2 separate regions of the Homo sapiens genome follow, and region 2 is linked to region 1. The links are contacts of gene promoters, found by promoter capture Hi-C in human tissues and cell types (Jung and others, 2019). All regions are on one chromosome and are shown on one strand. The core of a region is centred on a gene start or on the middle of the fragment in contact, and the rest is flanking DNA. Distances in the headings are between cores, read along the strand shown. Region 1 holds the start of SAR1A (secretion associated Ras related GTPase 1A). Region 2 overlaps UNC5B (unc-5 netrin receptor B).

The links. The method cuts DNA at HindIII sites, captures the fragments that hold promoters and counts their contacts. A contact is called where the count stands out against the background at its distance.
Region 2: a contact is called between a fragment that was not itself captured here and the fragment with the promoter of SAR1A in region 1, in 1 of the 25 tissues and cell types used here (hippocampus).

Annotation. Positions count from the first base shown.
Region 1 is chr10:70,169,070-70,172,142 of GRCh38, reverse strand. It overlaps SAR1A (secretion associated Ras related GTPase 1A), which reads left to right and starts at 1,629. Exons shown (of 7, transcript NM_020150.5): 1 at 1,629-1,730. RefSeq lists enhancers at 1,135-1,214, 1,348-2,004, 2,005-2,663 and a silencer at 1,345-1,704. The HindIII fragment of the contact is 10,715 bases long and covers 1-3,073 here.
Region 2 is chr10:71,298,113-71,301,155 of GRCh38, reverse strand. UNC5B (unc-5 netrin receptor B) reads right to left here. Exons shown (of 17, transcript NM_170744.5): 17 at 1-2,044. The coding sequence ends at 1,879. Among named protein-coding and RNA genes, the nearest start is that of SLC29A3, 20 kb to the left of the region's middle. The HindIII fragment of the contact is 7,838 bases long and covers 1-3,043 here.

The sequences.
Region 1 (3,073 bases), core at 380-2,879:
AAGCCCCATGGACACATTGTCCCTGGTTTAGCTAAAGCTGGTGAGAAGCCTCAGAAGTGGCCTGACACCTTTCTGTGACAGGACAGGGTTCAAATTCAACATCTAAGACCCCAGGATGAGCGGAGGGTAGAGGGTGGTGAGCTTGCCCACTCAGCTCCCTGAGTATTGCTGGAGTCCCAGGTGCTACTTTAGTTTTATTTCTGCATGTACTTTAGTCATTTCTGTACTTTGCTCTGTTCCATTGTGTTTTTTGTGTGTGTGTGTTTGTGCATGTGCACGCACACCAGTTTTAATAACTTAGGCTCTATAATATGTTTTAATATCCAACAGGGTTAGTTCCCACCTCCTTGTTCTTCATTTTGAAAGCCTGTTTCTGGACTAGTTTTGTTTGGTTTTCTATACGAATTTTAGGAACAAATAGGGTAATTAAAAAAAAAGAACGAAACCACACACGACCTATTAATCCTATTAGTACTTTTATTGGGATTATGTTAAATTTAAATTTTACTAAAGGAGAATTGAGATCTTCATGAACCCACAGACGTCATTCATCTTTCCATTAGACTGTTTTATTTGTAAAATGAGAGTAATAATAGTACCAATCTCGTGGGACTGTCCTGAGAATTAAATGAGAAAATGCATGCGAAATATACTGGGGTGAACACGTTGCTTTGCCACTTAGCTGTGTGAACTTGGGCATGGTAGGTTATTCTGAACATTGCTCTCTCATTTGTCAATAAGGATAATACTAGCATCTGGAGTCACAGGACTCCAATGACGGTGAAATTAGACAAAGCGTGCAAAGTACCCAGTGCTCTGCCTGGAACATAAGTGCACAATAAATATTAGCTGTTTTTCTGTTTTTCTAAAACATAGGCCACCCCAGGGCAAGGAAGTGCGACTCAAAGCAAAAGCAGCTGGGCGCGGTGGCTCACGCCTCTCATCCCAGCATTTTGGAAGGCCGAGGCCAGCGGATCACTTGAGGTCAGAAGTTCGAGACCAGCCTGGCCAACACGGTGAAACCTGTCTCTGTAAAAATACAAAAAAATTAGCCAGGTGTGGTGACATGCGCCTGTAGTTCCAGCTACTCGGGAGGCCGAGGTATGAGAATCGCTTGAATCCGGGAGGTGGAGGTTGCAGTGAGCCGAGATCGCGCCACTGCACTCCAGCCTGGGCGACAAAGTGAGACTCCGCCTCAAAAAAAAAAAAAAAAAAAAAAAAAGCAAGGAAGAAAAAAAGCAAAAGCTTGGAGGGATCCACCTCAAGTGGAGGGCCCCAAGGTCAACTCATCTTTCCCAGGACCTATGTCACCGTCGGTACCCACTTCTGACTTTCCTGGTGCGTCTGGAATGGGAAGCCGCGATCCCGAGTGTACCAGGCCGCTCAGGGACTCCAGGACCCAGCCCCGGACCCAGGGTTCCGGCGCTGCCACGTCTCGCGCGGTCAGCTAGCCAGACGGGAGCAGGCGGGGCCGAGGCGGGGCCAGACCCCGAGCGCGCTTTGTCACGCCTTATGCCCGCCCCTCCGCGGCCCGAGTCGCTGGTGGGACGGCACCGGGGCAGAGAGGCGTAACGCTGTGAGGGGGCGGGGCCCATTACGCGCCCGGAAGTCCCGGGGAGGGGTGTGACGTACATCCGGCGAGTAGCTGGCGGTCCCGGGTGCTGCTGGTTAGTGTGCTCTGAGGGAGGGTCCGAGCCAGCCGCTGTTTTGCCGGAGGAGCCCCTCAGGCCGTGAGTCTGAGGGTCGCGTCGGGGAGGGGAGTTGGGGCTCGAGGGGCTGGGACGGAAGGCGGGGAGGTCGGAGCGGAGGCTGGCCCTGGCGGGGTTGGGTGGGGGGGAAGTGACACGCAGGCGGTTCTGTGGGGCCGCGGGGCTGATTCTGGGCGGGGACGGGACAACTTGGCCAGATCTGCTCCGTCCCCTGCTGTCCTCTTTGCCTGGGGTCCACTTGCATTCCGCTCGGGGGTCTCGCAGCTGCTGGGCCGGATAACAGTTTCTTGTCTGTACCGTGCGCTCCGGTTTACGAAATGGCTCCATGTCCTCTGTCTCGGAAGAGCCTCACAGCCCTCGGTGAGGCGGGTGGGAGCCCTTTATGATTATCCTTGTTTTGTAGACTCGGAGACTGAGGCTGGCCAAGGCTCCGCAGTTAGCGAGTGTGAGCGCTCGAACCTGGTCTACAGGCCCCTAGTCCAGGGCTTACCCCCAAGTCAGCGCTTGGTTGTCTTCCGATGGCCCGGGTCGAACCCTGTATTTTCTCCTTCTCCCTTCCCCTTTTCCCCTGTCTGGTCTCTGCATGGAAAAATTTCCTTATGTGCATTTGACATGGATTAGCGTTTTCTTCACGATTCTAGCCAGTGGGTCAGGAGCATCTTTGTCTTGTTGATTCCATCGGCTTCGGTTGCGACAGGGGGCTTAGGGAGATTCGCCATGGGGCTGACCTTTGACATTTACCCCGCAGCTAAGCAGAGTTAGCTAAAAGCCAGCCGCCTACTACCCCAAATCTGCCTGGAATGGCGTCTTAAAGTTGCCCTGATTATGTATAACAAGTAATGCGTAAATTTTTAAATTGGCTAATGGTCAGATTGGTGCCCTCCTTTTCTATTAACATTTGTTTGAATCATTTAGCCCTGGAATTCGCAAGTTTTCATTTTAGGTACATTAATAGTGTTTTGTTGATAGTTTAGAGACCTACCTTAAATTTTAGATTACTCTTAACTTCTCGTAAGGTGGTACAATGGACCAAGAATAGAAAATAAATAGAATGCTAGTTATTAAAATACCATTCAAAAGATGTGATGAGTTGTAAGGAAGAGAACTTCGGAAGATCATCCTCTGTGTAGTTGGTGGGTTAAAGAAGTTTTAGTTTTTTTTTTTTTCCCCAGCAATTTTGTGGTTTGGGTTTGAATTTTATGTACTGTTAACAGGAAGAGCTTAGGCTTTGGTGTTAGAGATGAGGGTTTAAGCCCTGGCACTATTACTTTTTCAACTGAGCCGTCTTAAAGGACTCAGCAAAACTAGGAGTATCCTCATCTTTATCTTGTTAAATGAGGCCAGTGATCCTTGCCTGGTAGGGT
Region 2 (3,043 bases), core at 60-2,559, 1.1 Mb before region 1:
CTCGGAGACCTGCTGGGGCATGCCCTAGGGTCACTGCCTGGAGGTGTTGGGGAAGCGGGCACCTGCCTTGCCTGGAGTGCCAAGAGGGAGAGGCCTTTGAAGAGGCCTCTGTGCTGGCTGCAAGATCCTTGTCCCAGCCACTGCCAGGCAGCTGCACAGGGCAGGGACTCATCCCGTGCCATGCAGGGCCCCTCGAACAGGTTGGGTGGGGGTGGTATGTGCTGTCCCCTCAACCCTGGCAACCCTGCCCACTGGGAAAGGTTATTTCAGATCTCTCAGACCGTAGCGGGGTGGGTGAGAGGAGGGTTATAGGAGGTGCCTGTGGAGATCAGAGCTGGGAAACCAGCTTCTCAGCCTCCTTCTCCACTCCTGGGCATATGAAGCACAGCCAGGCCACCCGCCTCCAAGGCTCCCACGTTGCAGAGCTGACTGACACCGGGAAGCTCAGGCTTCTGCAGCTAGAGAGGACTTCTCAGCCATCACTCTGCTTTACAGAAGGAGAAACCAAGGTTGGGGAAGGGCAGATTCTGGATTCCTGGCCATCAAGAGAGCACCACGCTGCTCTAGAGGCTGCTGGGCTGAGGAGGGGATGAGGGTGTCAGGGCTGGCCCCACCCTAGGGTAAAGCTATCCAGCCGCCAGGAGAGAGATGCCCGTGGAGGACTCCCCTCCCCTACTTCATCTCTCTGTTTGAGTCCCACTTCTGGGCCACATCCCTTTCTAGGAGCCACCAGACCAAAACCAGACTGGAACATTCTCCCTGGCTCACAACTGGCCTGAGCAGTCCTCCTCTTTCATCCCAACTTTCTTAATCCAGATTCCCAGGAGTCCAGATGTATCTCCCTGGGGCTGTGGGAGGGAGGGCCCACCCACTCCAGCCCTCAGCACTCCTTGGCTTTATGGATTCAGCATCTGCTTAAGATTTTAGAGGAAAATCTAACCAGCTAAATCTAGACAGTGAAAACCCTGTCTGACCTACTCCCTGCACAACTGGGGAAACTGAGGCCTTGTCAGAATTTAGTCCAAGATGGATTCGTTAGCAGCAAAGTACTCTCTGTTCAGTCTCTCTCTCCTCAATGCACACGCGTACATGTACACACACACACACACACACACACACACACACAGGCACATTCACTCCTGGCCAGAAGTGTGAGCGTGCCCATTCTCATCCACACTCAAGAAAAGAGTTTTCTATTTTTTTTGTGTTGTTTTTCATTTTCTTTTTTTTTCTTAAAAAGGACTTATCCAAATAATCTGGATAATAAATCGTTTGCGTTTCCTAAGAAACTGGGTTTTTCTTTTCCCTTGTGGTTTTGGTGTTTTTCTTCTTCTTTGAGCCTTACTAGCGGTCTGAAGCTTTCTTTCTTTCCTTTGCCTTTTTGCTTTTGGACAGGAGAAAGCAGTTTGTCTGAATTGTACTTGACTCTTCAAAGAGGAAAAGGGCGTGGAAGCAGAAGGGGGCTTAGGGAGAAAGGAGAAATCAATAACGGAGGAAGAAAACGAGAACGGAACTAAAACCCATGGAACCCAGAAGTTGCCGGGCTGAGGGTGGGGGGGTGGAGGGAGGGCCTCCTGCCTGCCCGCCCCCAACCAACTGCCTCCAGAGGCTTCAGCCCCATCTTGGTTCCTGCACAGAGATCTCAGGCCAAGAGAGAGAGAGCGGGGGTGGAGAAGGAACTCTGGGCCCTCTAACAACAGAGTACATGGATTTTCTAAGGCTGGTCATGGTCTGGGGGTTGGGGAAGAGGAGGAGGAGAGGCAACTCTGGCTGTGAACTGGGAGGAAGCAGAGGCCAAACATCCCCATCAGGAGGCTGCCCCAGGCCTCCCTGCACCTGCCTCCTGCCAGTCCCTGCCAGCCCGCTGTCCCAGGAGGCTCAGCAGTCCCCGTCGGTGGCCACAGCCACCAGCATCTCACTCTTGCCCATCTCCTCCAAGGCACTCGCCAGGCTGTTGAGGTCCCCATCGTCCTGCTGCAGAGCTTCCCAGAGGTCCAGGATCACACCCGTGGGGCTCGCTTTGGTGGCAAAGTAATTCAGGTACCTGGCAGAGGGAAGGAGGGCACTGAGGTTCCCAAGCACTTAGCCCCTCCCCGGAGCCTGGAGGTGAAGGGGCACAAGGGGAAGTGGGAAGGCTGTGAGCTTTGGTGTCCCACTGTCCTGGGTCTGAATTGCAGCTACTGTGCTGCAGTCTGTGTGGCTCTCGGCAATTCAGAACCTATGGCTCAGAATCTCAGTCTCCTTGTCTCTAAAATGGGAACAATGCCAGTTACCGCTCAGCAAGATCCAAGATCATATAAAGTAAGGGTCTAGCGTTGTCTCTAGCATGTAACCATCTTGTTCATCATCATCATTATTATCATTGAAAGACACTGGCCCCAAGAGAGAATGACCACGTCTAGCATGTGGTCATTCCTCCCACCCGTGTTCCCTCCTGCTCCCATGAACTCCCCTGATAGGAGGAATAAAGCCTTAGCCATCTTTGTAAGTCCTATTCATTTCTAGTAAAATGTCTTATCTAAAGCATATTTTATTTATTTATTTTTTGAGACTCAATGCAGGTTTATTACACATCTTTCAATAAGTATAATATTTATTATCATTGGCCTTATATTTATCCAGCACTTATCCAGCATTTGAGGTTCTCCAAAGGAGTTTTGACACCAAAGTGTATCTTGGTCAGTCAGCAAGCATCTCGCAGCACATTCTCTGTCCTAGATACCAGGTGCTGACAATGATGGCACCAAGCTGATGCCCTGGCTTTGAGTCTCCTGCTGTTCGGTGAGATGGGCAGGTGGAGCATTATCCCCACACAATGGGAAAAGAGCAGGGTCTGAGAGTCTGCCTGGCTCAAGGACCAGTGCTCTGAGCATGATGCTCCTCAAGGGAGCAGTATTCTTGAACTTTGCATATCCAATCCTGAGTTGCTGATTTGCCACAAATGGTGGCAAAAGGGCAGCTGGTCTGGGAGATGGTCGTGGCTGTCAGGCTGCCTGCCCTGCCTGCCCCTGTGAGACCTTGAGGACGAAGGCAGATGGGGATG